Regions from separate parts of the Homo sapiens genome. Here all the other regions are linked to region 4. Evidence: promoter capture Hi-C in human tissues and cell types (Jung and others, 2019). All regions are on one chromosome and are shown on one strand. The core of a region is centred on a gene start or on the middle of the fragment in contact, and the rest is flanking DNA. Distances in the headings are between cores, read along the strand shown. Region 1 has its middle 6.2 kb from the start of SDHAF1. Region 2 has its middle 28 kb from the start of SDHAF1. Region 3 has its middle 6.2 kb from the start of LINC01766. Region 4 holds the start of ARHGAP33 (Rho GTPase activating protein 33).

Region 1 (2,964 bases), core at 162-2,661, 210 kb before region 4:
AGGAACCATCGCGCCCAGCCTCAAATTCCTCTTTCCAATCTCATCGCCTCTGCCCCTAGTCAGCCTGGCTTCCCATTGGTATTTCCCCACCTCCACACCTTTGTAGCTGCAGTTCCCTTTCCCTTGGATCCTCTTCCCACACATTCTCCTCCACCAATTCCACCTATGCTAGGAATTCTTCCTGGACTCCCACCAGGGGAAGGGGCTCTTCCAGCCAACCCATAGTCTGCCCTGCCTGCACCCCAGACCAAGCCAGAGCACTTATGGCAATGCTTGGGGCCCCTCCAGGGCATCACAGGGTTCCCAGGCTCCTGGCTGCTGCAGTATGGCCTGTGAGAGTGTCACAGAGACCACGGTGCTGGCCACTGGGATGACACGCATCCTGCAGGCATATACTAAGGAAGGGCTTGTTGATGTGGGCCACACAGTGGTTAAAGGGGCCATCCGGCACATGCAGGAGGCCACACAGTTTGGGAGCTTTGAAGATCTGGGCAAGTCATGTGGGCAGCTGACATGAAAGCCATGGTTGGGCTGGGTCAGTGGGCAGTGGATAGTGATCAGGCCCTTGGACCAGGACACGGTATCCAGAGGCAGGTCAAGTAGGCCAACATTGCCTCCAAAGGACCCATGGAGCCCCGCCAGCTCGCCTTAGAATTCAGAAGGCACCATGAGCTTCCCCAGGTGTACATGAGATACAGCCCACAGGCCATGTGCACCATGGCATGGTGGCCCTCCAAGGCGGCCAACCCCAGCCCCCTGGCAGTGCCCAGGGCAGCCAGTAGTGCTCACCATCCACCTGCAGGGGAGGTAAGGGGTCAGGACTGGGGCTGAGGAGGCTGAACCTGCTCCCATGCCTCCCTGAAACCTGGATGTCCCTCCTCATTGCGCCACAAATGAGGGTGAGACTTGGACAAGGGACTTAGCCTTTCTGAACTTCAGTTTCTGTGTTTGTAACATGGAAGGACAAGAGTACCTACTTCAGGCTGGGTGCGGTGGCTCATGCCTGTAATCCCAGCACTTTGGGAGGTTGAGGTGGGCGGGTCACTTGAGGCCAGGAGTTCGAGACCATCTTGGCCAACATGAAGAAACCCCATCTCTACTAAAAACTCAAAAATTAGCCAGGTGTGGTGGTGCAGGCCTGTAGTCCCAGCTGCTCAGGAGGCTGAGGCAGAAGAATCGCTTGAACCTGGGAGGCAGAGGTTGCAGTGAGCCAAGATGGTGCCATTGCACTGCCTGGGCGACAGACTGAGACTCCATCTCAAAAAAAAAAAAAAGAGTACCTATGCTAGGCATATGGTAAGTGCTTCATGACCCCTGCTAAGATCGGCCAATGCCAACCAACCCACAGACACATGAGTTAGGAAGCTGCCTGGGGTTAAGTCACTAAGATTTTGAGGTTGTTTGTTATGCAGCATTAGCTGACTGATACAGTTGCAATAAGGATTAGATGAGATGGTTCATGAAAATTCCTCAGAACAGTGCTGAGCACATGAAAAGCACTAAATAAAACACTAAATTGGCCGGGCATGTTGGCTCACATCTGTAATCCCAGCACTTTGGGAGGCTAAGGCAGGAGGATCCCTTGAGCCCAGAAGTTTGAGACCAGCCTGAGCAACATACTGAGACCCCATCTCTACAAAAATTAGGATGGCATGGTGGGGCATGCCTGTAGTCACAGCTACTCCAGAAGCTGAAGCGGGGGGATCACTTGAGCCCAGGAATTTGGGGCTGCAGTGAGCTGTGATCACATGACTATGCTCCAGCCTGGGTGACAGAGTAACATTCTGTCTCCAAAAACAAAACAAAACAAAAACCAACCAAACAAAAAACATCATAGCCAGTCACTAGCACATTGGTAATATGTGTTCAACATTCTAGGTGAGGAAAGGAATGACTTACCAAAGTATCAATTCCACCTTCTCTCTATTGCTTAAATGATCACTTATCTCTGCTTTGTAACCATCAAGAGTCTAGATTACCATCATTCATTTCCCGACCCTGCTAATAACCTGTTACCTTTTTTTTTTTTTTTTTTTTGAGACAGAGTCTCACTCTGTCACCTAGGCTGGAGTGCAGTGGCGCAATCTTGGCTCACTGCAACCTCCGCCTCCTAGGTTCAAGCAGTTCTCTGCCTCAGCCTCCCAAGTAGCTGGGGTTACAGGCACGCACCACCATGGCCAGCTAATTTTTGTATTTTTAGTAGAGACGGGGTTTCACCATCTTGGCCAGTCTGGTCTTGAATGCCTGACCTCGTGATCCACCTGCCTTGGCCTCCCAAAGTGCTGGGATTACAGGCGTGGGCCACCGCACCAGGCCATAACCCTTTATCTTGTCTCTACTCAGTCATGCCTGTCCTTCCTATACTCCATCCCCACCATCTAGCTGACTCTGCTAAACACCCTTATCTTTTTTTTTGTCTTTTTTCTTTTTTCTTATTTTTTTTAGACAGACTCTTGCTCTGTTGCCCAGGCTGGAGTGCAGTGGCACGATCTCGGCTCACTGCAACCTCCACCTCCTGGGCTCAAGCAATTCTCCTGCCTCAGCCTCCTGAATAGCTGGTACTACAGGCATGCACCACCACTTCCGGCTAATTTTTGTGTTTTTAATAGAGACAGGGTTTCACCATGTTGGCCCAGGCTGTCCTCGAACTCCTGACCTCAAGTGATTTGCCCGCCTCGGCCTCCCAAAGGGTTGGGATCACTGGAGTGAGCCACCGTGCCTGGCCTAAACACCCTTATCTTTTAAAGACATACACTTTTTAATTTTATTTAATTCTTTTAGAGACGAGGTCTGGCTCTGTTGCCTAGGCTGGAGTGCAGTGGCGCCACCATGGCTCACTGCAGCCTCGACCTCCTGGGCTTAAGGATCTTCCTACCTCAGTCTCTTGAGCAGCTGGGAACACAGGCGCGCACCACCCCCCCCCCCCCCCGCCTAATTTTTAATTTATTTTTTTGAGCCCGGGAA
Region 2 (3,063 bases), core at 65-2,564, 190 kb before region 4:
CAGCATGTAGGTGCAGATCCCAGGCATGGGGAACAAGTGGTCATTGAAAATCTAGATGTATACTGGCCAGGCACGACGGCTCACGTCTGTGATCCCGGCACTTTAGGAGGCTGAGGTGAGCAGATCGCTTGAGGCCAGGAGTTTGGACCAGCCTGGCCAACATGGTGACACCCCGTCTCTAAAAATACAGAAATTAGCCAGGCGTGGTGGTGCACACCTGTAATCCCAGGTACTCGGGAGGTTGAGGCAAGCGAATTGCTTGAGCTTGGGAGACAGAGGCTACAGGGAGCTGAGACTGTGACATTGAACTCCAGTGTGGGTGACGGCAAGACCCTGTCTTTTTTTTTTTTTTTTTTTTTTTTTAGATGGAGTCTTGCTCTGTCGTCCAGGCTGGAAGTGCAGTGGTGCAATCTCGGCTCACTGCAACCTCCACCTCCCGAATTCAAGCAATTCTCTTGCCTCAGCCTCCCAAGTAGCTGGGATTACAGGGACCCGCCACCATGCCTGGCTAATTTTTTTGTATTTTTAGTAGAAACGGGGTTTCACCATTATTGGCCAGCTGGTCTCAAACTGCTAACCTTGTGATCCGCCCATCTCGGCCTCCCAAAGTGCTGGGATTACAGACATGAGCCACTGCGCCAGGCCCGACCCTGTCTTTAAAAAAAAAAAGAAATCAGGCCGGGTGCGGTGGCTCATGCCTGTAATCCCAGCATTTTGGAAGGCTGAGGTGGGCGGATCACCTGAGGTTGGGAGTTCAAGACCAGCCTGTCCAACATGGAGAAACCCCATCTCTACTAAAAATACAAAATTAGCCTGGTGTAATGGCACATGCCTGTAATCCCAGCTACTCAGGAGGCTGAGGCAGGAGAATCGCTTGAAGGTAGAACCTTCAAGCTTGAACCTCTACCCGGGAGGTAGAGGTTGCAATGAGCCGAGATCGTGCCATTGCACTCCAGCCTGGGCAACAAGAGCAAAACTCCTTCTCAAAAAAAAAAAAAAAAGAAAGAAAGAAAGAAAAAAAGTCTAGATGTATGGTAGCCCAGAGGCTCAGGTGGTAGCCCCTGTGATGGCCCCTTGTCCTTTGCTACAGTCAAGTCCTAATTTTGCCACAGCCAGAGTCTTTAAGCTTGGTTTAGTCACTGTCACCACCTTGAGCCCCAGCTTGGCCATGAGACAGTTCTGACCCAGACACAGATACTGTCTTGGTTTTGGACATGGTTGTAGACAATGGTTAGCTATGGGTTTGGTAGGTGGTATAGGTGCTGGTTCAGCTACAGCCAGAGTTGCAGGAAGTGGTTCTTTCACAGTCACAAGTCGAGGCACTGGTGCGGCTGCAGCTACAGGTTCAGGGCAGGGTTCATTTACGGTCACTTGTGCAAGCCCCAGATGAGCCATGGCCACAGGTTCAGGCTCAGGTCCCCCCAGGAGCACAGGCACAAGCCTTGGCTCAGCTTCAGGTGTGTTGTTTGGTCCTGATGCAGCCACTGCCATGGTCTTAGAGCTGAAGATGGACGGTGTTTTGGAGTCCTGCCATCTTGGAACTGGACAAGGTCTCAGACTCACATGTGACCTGAGTGGTGGGCACACATTTAGGCCTTTTTCATTTATTTATTTATTTAGATTTTAAATTACTTTTTTGTTTTTTGTTTTTTTCTTTTTTCTTTTTCTTTTTTATTTTGAGGCAGGGTCTGGCTCTGTTGCCCAGGCTGAGGTGCAGTGGTGCGATCTCAGCTCACTGCAACCTCCACCTCCTGGACTCAAGCCATCTTCCCACCTCAGCCTCCTAAGTAGCTGGGACTACAGGTGCATGCCACCTGGCTAATTTTTGTATTTCTTGTAGAGTCAGGGTTTTGCCATTTTGCCCATGGTGGTCTCCAACTCCTGAGCTTAAGTGATCCACCCATCTCTGCCTTCCAAAGTGCTGGGATTACAAGTGTGAGCCACTGTGCCCAGCCACACACTTAAGTCTGTGCTTCACAAGCTGACATGTGGTCCCATCAGAGCATGTATGGCCCTCACAGGAGACCTGGAACTGGAGTGGCATCACCAGGGAAGACTAGGAGGGGATGGGACTCTATGAAAGGGCTCACTTCCTCCTCAGTCAAAATATTTAGAGATGAGATGAGGGAAGGATGCAATATAATTGGATCCTGGAATTTAGCCTCATCCCCGACCTGCCTTCATACCCCGGGCCTCCAGGGTCCCTGGCACTGGAAACTCAACATTCAGAAGCTATCAGTGTTCCCAATTTAAAATAAACTGGGTCTGTATGTATCAGCAGAAAGAAAAGAGTGGGACTGAGGGACAAAATGATCAGCACGGCCTGGGTGTAGAATAGGTCTGTAGGGAGCTCGAGAGCACAGGCTGCATCTGAAGACAGCCAGATTCAATTATGTGAGCATCTCTATGCCAGTGCAAATGTATGGTGCATTGATTCTGGCCATCGAGGACTTCAACTTGCCACATTAAGCAGACTTGAGGGTAGGATGTGAGAGTGTGTGTGTGTGTGTGTGCGCGTGTGTGCGTGCGCATGTGTGTATGCTGTGGGGAACTGGAGACATATATTCCTTCCTTCTTCCCAGGAAGGGATGTTATTTATTCATTGCTATCAGTGCACGAAGCTAGCCACCTACAAAGTGAACTTTTTTTTTTTTTTTGAGACAGAGTCTCACTCTGTCACCCAGGCTGGAGTGCAGTGGTGTGATCTCAGCTCACTGCAGACTCCACCTCCCGGGTTCAAGAGATTCTCATGCCTCAGCCTCCTAAGTAGCTGGGATTACAGACATGCACCACCACATCTGGCTGATTTTTGTATTTTTAGTAGAAATGAGGTTTTGCCATGTTGCTCAGGTTGGTCTCGAACTCTGACCTCCGGTGATCTGCCCACCTCGGCCTCCGAAAGTGCTGGGATTACAGGCATGAGCCGCCACACCTGACCCCAAAGTGAACTTTTAAGAATAATCTTGTGTTCTGTAGAACTTTGCATATTTTCTATCACAATGGAATATAGAAAAAAAAAGATGGAATATAGAGTTTTCGTATGGACTGAGCTAGAGTGTCAGC
Region 3 (2,987 bases), core at 113-2,612, 170 kb after region 4:
CCAGGGTTCAAGCAATTCTCCTGCCTCAGCCTCATGAGTAGCTGGGATTACAGGCACCCATCACCATGCCTGGCTAATTTTTTTATTTTTAGTAGAGACAGGGTTTCACCATGTTGGCCAGGCTGGTCTCAAACTCCTGACCTCAGGTGATCCGCCCACCTTGGCCTCCCAAAGTGCTGGGATTACAGGCGTGAGCCACCGTGCCAGGCCCCATGTTCACTTTGGAGTGGAGACTTAACACTTAAATGTATTACAATTAGGCCCTATACATCAAAAGGTGATGCAGAGGACACAAAGGCCCTTTGTGTGCAGCCTCTGTAGACTGGCCAGAGCCACACCCCGTGGTTAGGTGGCCTCTGATCAGGAAGGAATGCTGGTCAGTTGTTATGTTGAAACCACAAAAGGGAGGAGCAGCCATGTATTTCAGGCCATTGGTTGAAATTAGCAGTGAATGAGTCTTTCAATAGGGCTGGTTTCTGTTTAACCCTTAGGGAAGAAAGCTTCATGGCAGTCAGCAAGGGAGGAGGTAGAATGAGGTGTGCCCGACCACCCGTTCAGTCACGGCTAGGAACTCAGCTTTTAGTGTTTCTCTGTAGGCCCCTTGGCCAAGACAGTGTTCATTCAGCCAGTTGGCGGACTTAGGATTTTATTTTTGTCACGTGCGTCCGTGTGAAGAGACCATCAAACAGGCTTTGTGTGAGCAGTAAAAGCTTTTTAATCACCTGGGTGCAGGCGGACTGAGTCCGAAAAAGGAGTCAGCAAAGGGAGATAGGAGTGAGGCAGTTTTATAGGATTTGGGTAGGTAGTGGAAAATTACAGTTAAAGGGGGTTGTTCTCTTGCAGGCAGGGGCGGGGGTCACAAGGTGCTCGGTGGGGAGCTCCGGAGACTTATTGTCCAGGAGAAGGAATGTCACAAGGTAATGTCATCAGTTAAGGCAGGAGCTGGCCATTTTCACTTGTTTTTGTGGTTCTTCAGTTGCCTCAGGCCATCTGGATGTATACATGCAGGCTTGGGCTCAGACACCTGACAATTTTTATTTCTCACAGGTCTCTTATTTACAGCCTCCTGACAAGGATTCTTTGCTTGGCCAAACTTTAGTCAGGCTTCTGAACCTGGGCCGGGCCCAGTGGCTCATGCCTGTAATCCCAGGACTTTGGGAGGCTGAGGCAGGTGGATCACCTGATCTCAGGAGTTTGAGACCAGCCTGGCCAACATGGAGAACCCCAGCTCTACTAAAAATATAAAAATTAGCCGGGCGGCCAGGCGCGGTGGCTCACGCCTGTAATTCCTACACTTTGGGAGGCCAAGGCAGGTGGATCACCTGGGGTCAGGAGTTTTAAGACCAGCCTGGCCAACATGATGAAATCCCATCTCTACTAAAAATAAAAAAATTAGCCAGGCGTGGCGGCAGGCGCATGTAATCCCAGCTACTCAGGAGGTGGAGGCAGGAGAATCACTTGAACCTGGGAGGCAGAGGTTGCAGTGAGCCGAGATCATGCCACTGTACTCCAGCCTGAGTGAGAGAGCGAGACCCCGTCTCAAAAAAAAAAAAAAAAGAAAAGAAAAGAAAAAAAAAAAAAAAAAAAAAAGAAAGGCTGGGCACGGTGGCTCACGCCTATAATTCCAGCACTTTGAGAGGCCGAGGCGGGCATATCACGAAGTCAGGAGTTCAAGACCAGCCTCACCAACATGGTGAAACCCCATCTCTATTAAAACTATAAAAAATTAGCTGGTTGAGGTGGTGAGCACCTGTAATCCTAGCTACTCAGGAGGCTGAGGCAGGAAAATGGCTTGAATACGGGAGGCGGAAGCTGTAGTGAGCCAAGATTGCACCACTGCATTCCAGCCTGGGTGACAGAGTGAGACTCCATCTCAAAAAAAAAAAAAAAAGCATCTGAACCTTCTCCTTCTGTGCACTTCTTTGTAAAATCCAGTTGTAGCAAAAGAACCCTTCTACGTCAGTTTAGCTAGAAACCCTCATCCTCTGTATCTGATACACCTCGGCATCTGATCAGGTTCCTCATCCTCCACCATCCCCCTGGTGATGTCTGGTCACCCTGGCCTGTCTTCAACTAGAATCCTATTAGGTTGGTTTAGTCAGAATCCCCCTTACCCTCAATGTTTTCTCTTACTAATTTTCCATCCACTGACCCCTACCCTGCTCCTTGGGTAGGACTTCCCACTTGCTCATGCTGTATTTAGTGTTGAGCCCCATCTTTCTCCTCCAGTGCAGGCCCCTGTCTCAGTATTCCCTCTGCATATTGCAATGGTCCTGAATAAAGTCTGCCTTACTGTCTTTTTCTTTTTGAGATGGAGTCAGTTTTGCTCTGTCCCACAGGTTGGAGTGCAGTGGCACAATCTCGAACCACTGCAACCTCTGCCTCCCAGGTTCAAGCAATTCTCATGCCTCAGCCTCCTGAGTAGCTGGGATTACAGGTGCACACCACCACGCCTGGCTAATTTTGTATTTTTAGTAGAGACAAGGTTTCACCATGTTGGCCAGGCTGGTCTTGAACTCCCAAGCTCAAGTGATCCGCCCGCCTCGGCCTCCCAAAGTGCTGAGATTACAGGCATGAGCCACTGTGCCTGGCCCGCCTTACTGTCTGTAACGAGTGTCATTAAACAAGTGTTTCTTTAGTAACCCTTCCCAAGTTTTCTTCCATTATATATTGGACCACTCCGATTGTCACTGTCTGGTGGCATGTCTGTCTCTCACCCCAATTTATATGTTCTGAGGGGGTTGAGTTGAATTTGAAGTAGTCATTGCTACGTCTCCAGAGTCAGGTAGCACAGCCAACGCCCTTGGTAGGCAGAACTAGACTTGCGATGTGAATACATGAATCTGGGCAGGCTGTCCTCGAGCAACGGGGTCCTCCTCTCTCTCCCATGTCCCCCACGCCATAGCAGGGTCCTGGAGTTGGTCTTGAGTTCTGGTCGAGTGGGCTGCTGGCACTACCACTTCCTTCCCTTCAAGCTGCTGACCCAG
Region 4 (2,940 bases), core at 358-2,857:
CAAGACGAAGTCTGAATTCTCTGGTCTGATAATCGAGACTTCCCTGAGCTGATTTCTGTTTACCTCTCCAGTCCCATCTCTTCCCATTGCCCCCACTCTCAGAGCTCTTGAACTTCTAAGAGTCCAAAAAAAGCACCCTCTTCTCATTTCCTTCTAGGCCTTTGCAAAGGCTGTTCCCTCAGCCTGGAACACTCGCCCCACCTTTCCCTGGGTACATTCATCCTCACTCCCACCCCTCAGGTCCCAACTCACATGTGCCCTCCTCCAGGAAGTTCTCCCTGACCCTTCAGGCTGCACCTGGCATCTCCTCTGGACTCTCTCCATCCCCTGAGGTTCCCCCATCCCAGGTTCCATGCCTTGACCAGAGCTTCTCCCTTCACAGCTCTGATCACTCTGAGATGGCACTGGTGGTGACAAGTTCATCTCTCTCATTGGACTATGACCGGCCTCCCAGAAGGAGGGCCCCAGACTGAGCTCCCCAGCATAGAGCTGGGCATTGAGTTGGTGTTCAGACATGATTGTTCCTGATTCTTTTCTGGGTCCCCAGTGCCAGCCCAGTCGCGCGCAGCAGGGACTGGGTAAAATCTGATGAATAAATTAACCAGCTGCCAGACAGATTCACTGGGCTGTAGCGTCTCCCTGCTCCATGTCCCTGCAACCCCCAGTCACCCTCAGGGTCTCACCCTCAGGGTCTGTCCCCCTCCAGCCCATAAGGTTCCCCAAGGCAGGATGGGAGCTGACTCTCTCTGTGCCTGGAGCGTGGGGCCTGCACAGAGGCGGTCTCAGTGAATGTCTGCTAAGTGAGGGAATGAATGGATGAATGAGCGGGAGCAGCATGGTGGGAGAGGGAAATGGTGGGGGAGGGGGATGAGGACAAGGAGATGGAGCAGACCCGAGGATCAAGGGAGGTACAGTGCTGGCCTGTTGGGGTGGAGTAAGGAAGGAGTGGCTGGAGAGACGAGGCAAAGGCTCAGACTGATGCGGGGCGGGGGGGATTGAGAGGAACTGGGATAGGGTGAAAATGAGGGAGAAGGAGAAGAAAAGGGTCAGGCTGGGGATGGAGCGGGTGGGGGGTGGGGCTCGGGAATGAGAAAGGGGCTGTGGGGAGGAGGAGGGGGCTCCGCCGGGGAGGGCTGAGGGCTGGCAGAAGGATGCCGAGGAAGGTGCTGGGATGGGAGCTGGGGAAGGACCCAGGAGCCTCAGGAGGCCCCTGCAGGGGCCACTTGGGTGGCGCGGGTCCCTTCCTGGACTAGCCCCGCCTCCTCCCAGCCCAGGCCCTAGGTCCCTGTCACCCCATCCAGGGCGTGGAAGACGGGGATGCGCGCTTAGGGGGCGGGGTCGAGGTACGGGCTGGGACCCGGGATGGGGCCGCAGGACGGGAGGGACCACGGCTGAAGCACAGGCCGCGGGATCGGGCGGGGCCGGGGGCGGGGCGCGCGGGGCGGGGCTGCGCACGGACAGACTGACATCCGGACGGACAGGCTGACGGCCGCGTGGGACCCTTACCACCATGGTCGCGTAGCCTCCTCAGGCCCCGGCCGCGCTCGACCCCTCGCTCGCCGTTCTCGTCGCCGCTGCCGCCGCCATGGCGACACAAAGGGGAGGGCGCGAGCCGCGCGCGGGCGGCTGCAGACCCCGCCCCTAACGGCTGCCCGTGGCTCCGGCGCGCGCCCCACGGGGGCGGGGGGCAGCGGGAACGCGGCGCTGCTTCTCATTGGCTCCGCCCTTGGCCTTAGGCCGATGCCCCGCCCACCCGGAGGCTTCTCATTGGTTTCACCTTGGGCTCCGCCCCGGCTCTGTGTCCTCGGTCCCGCCCCTCGAAGTTTGACAGCGCCACGCCCATGACTGCTTTTCATTGGCTGTCATCGCCCTCCTGAGACAAGCCCCCAGGTTCTTTATGCTTTGCTTCCGACACTTCCAACACCAAGCAATGGACCCTACCTTTCGTCCACTCCCAGTGTCCATTCTTCTGACTTTTTTATTTTTATTTCTTTAAGAGACAGGGTCTCACTCTGTCGCCCAGGCTGGAGCGCAGTCCTGCAATCGTGGCTTACTGCAGCCTCAACCTCCTGGGCTCAAGCGATACCTCCCATGTAGCTGGGACTACAGGCGTGCGCTACCACGCCTGGCTAATTTTTTTTAGACATGGGGGTCTCACTATGTTACCCAGGATGGTCTTGATCTCTGGGGCTCAAGAGATACTCCCTCCTCAGCCTCCTTTCAAAGCGCTGGGATGACAGGCGTGAGCCACCACGCCAGCCAGCCCCTGATAGTCTTAATTGGATTCTCCCACGGCCTCAGAGCAGTGCCCAGTTCCTTAAGCAGCTTTTCAAAGTCCCAGTCCCAAGTCTCACCTTTTCAGTCCTGATCCCGACCCCGCTCACATAATGCCGAGGACGCTCCGCCCATGGACGTTTCTCGTTGCCTCATATACCTTGCCTAGGACGTAACCCGAGGCTTTCTGCGATTTGGCCTCCCCTGCCCACTGGACATTTTCTTGTTTCCCCTTCTACTGCTTATTACGGGCCAATCTCCAGCCTTGATTTTTTTTTTCTAGGAAAATGCTTAGGGGGAAATGCCAGATCATGCTTATGCCCCCCATAAAGCCATTCCCAATGGAGCCTGCTAATACTGAGCATGCCCAGATAACACTGTAATAACGCCCTTCACAGGAGGGTCTCTCCTTAGTCATGCCCTCAACAAATTCTCATCTCAGAGGGTCTTGGTCTGTTCATTCATTCATTCATTCATTCATTCACTCAAACTCTAATCAATTTGTACATACATCAACAACCAAACCAGGAGAAAATATACCCTGCCCACATTGGAGCTCAAAAGCTACTGGGAGAAGACAATGAACAAAATTAACATTAAACAAAATATAGAATATTAGGCCAGGCGTGGTGGCTCACGCCTGTAATCCCAACACTTTGGGAGGCC

The links. The method cuts DNA at HindIII sites, captures the fragments that hold promoters and counts their contacts. A contact is called where the count stands out against the background at its distance.
Region 1: a fragment that was not itself captured here is called in contact with the fragment with the promoter of ARHGAP33 in region 4 in 1 of the 25 tissues and cell types used here (spleen).
Region 2: a fragment that was not itself captured here is called in contact with the fragment with the promoter of ARHGAP33 in region 4 in 1 of the 25 tissues and cell types used here (mesenchymal stem cells).
Region 3: a fragment that was not itself captured here is called in contact with the fragment with the promoter of ARHGAP33 in region 4 in 1 of the 25 tissues and cell types used here (thymus).

The regions. Positions count from the first base shown.
Region 1 is chr19:35,987,460-35,990,423 of GRCh38, reverse strand. No RefSeq gene overlaps it. Among named protein-coding and RNA genes, the nearest start is that of SDHAF1, 6.2 kb to the left of the region's middle. The HindIII fragment of the contact is 5,281 bases long and covers 1-2,964 here.
Region 2 is chr19:35,965,217-35,968,279 of GRCh38, reverse strand. No RefSeq gene overlaps it. Among named protein-coding and RNA genes, the nearest start is that of SDHAF1, 28 kb to the left of the region's middle. The HindIII fragment of the contact is 3,385 bases long and covers 1-3,006 here.
Region 3 is chr19:35,602,639-35,605,625 of GRCh38, reverse strand. No RefSeq gene overlaps it. Among named protein-coding and RNA genes, the nearest start is that of LINC01766, 6.2 kb to the right of the region's middle. The HindIII fragment of the contact is 5,357 bases long and covers 1-2,987 here.
Region 4 is chr19:35,774,231-35,777,170 of GRCh38, reverse strand. ARHGAP33 (Rho GTPase activating protein 33) reads right to left here and starts at 1,607. Exons shown (of 21, transcript NM_001366178.1): 1 at 1,507-1,607. The coding sequence starts at 1,512. RefSeq lists enhancers at 1-34, 2,056-2,115 and a silencer at 1,346-1,825. The HindIII fragment of the contact is 39,613 bases long and covers 1-2,940 here.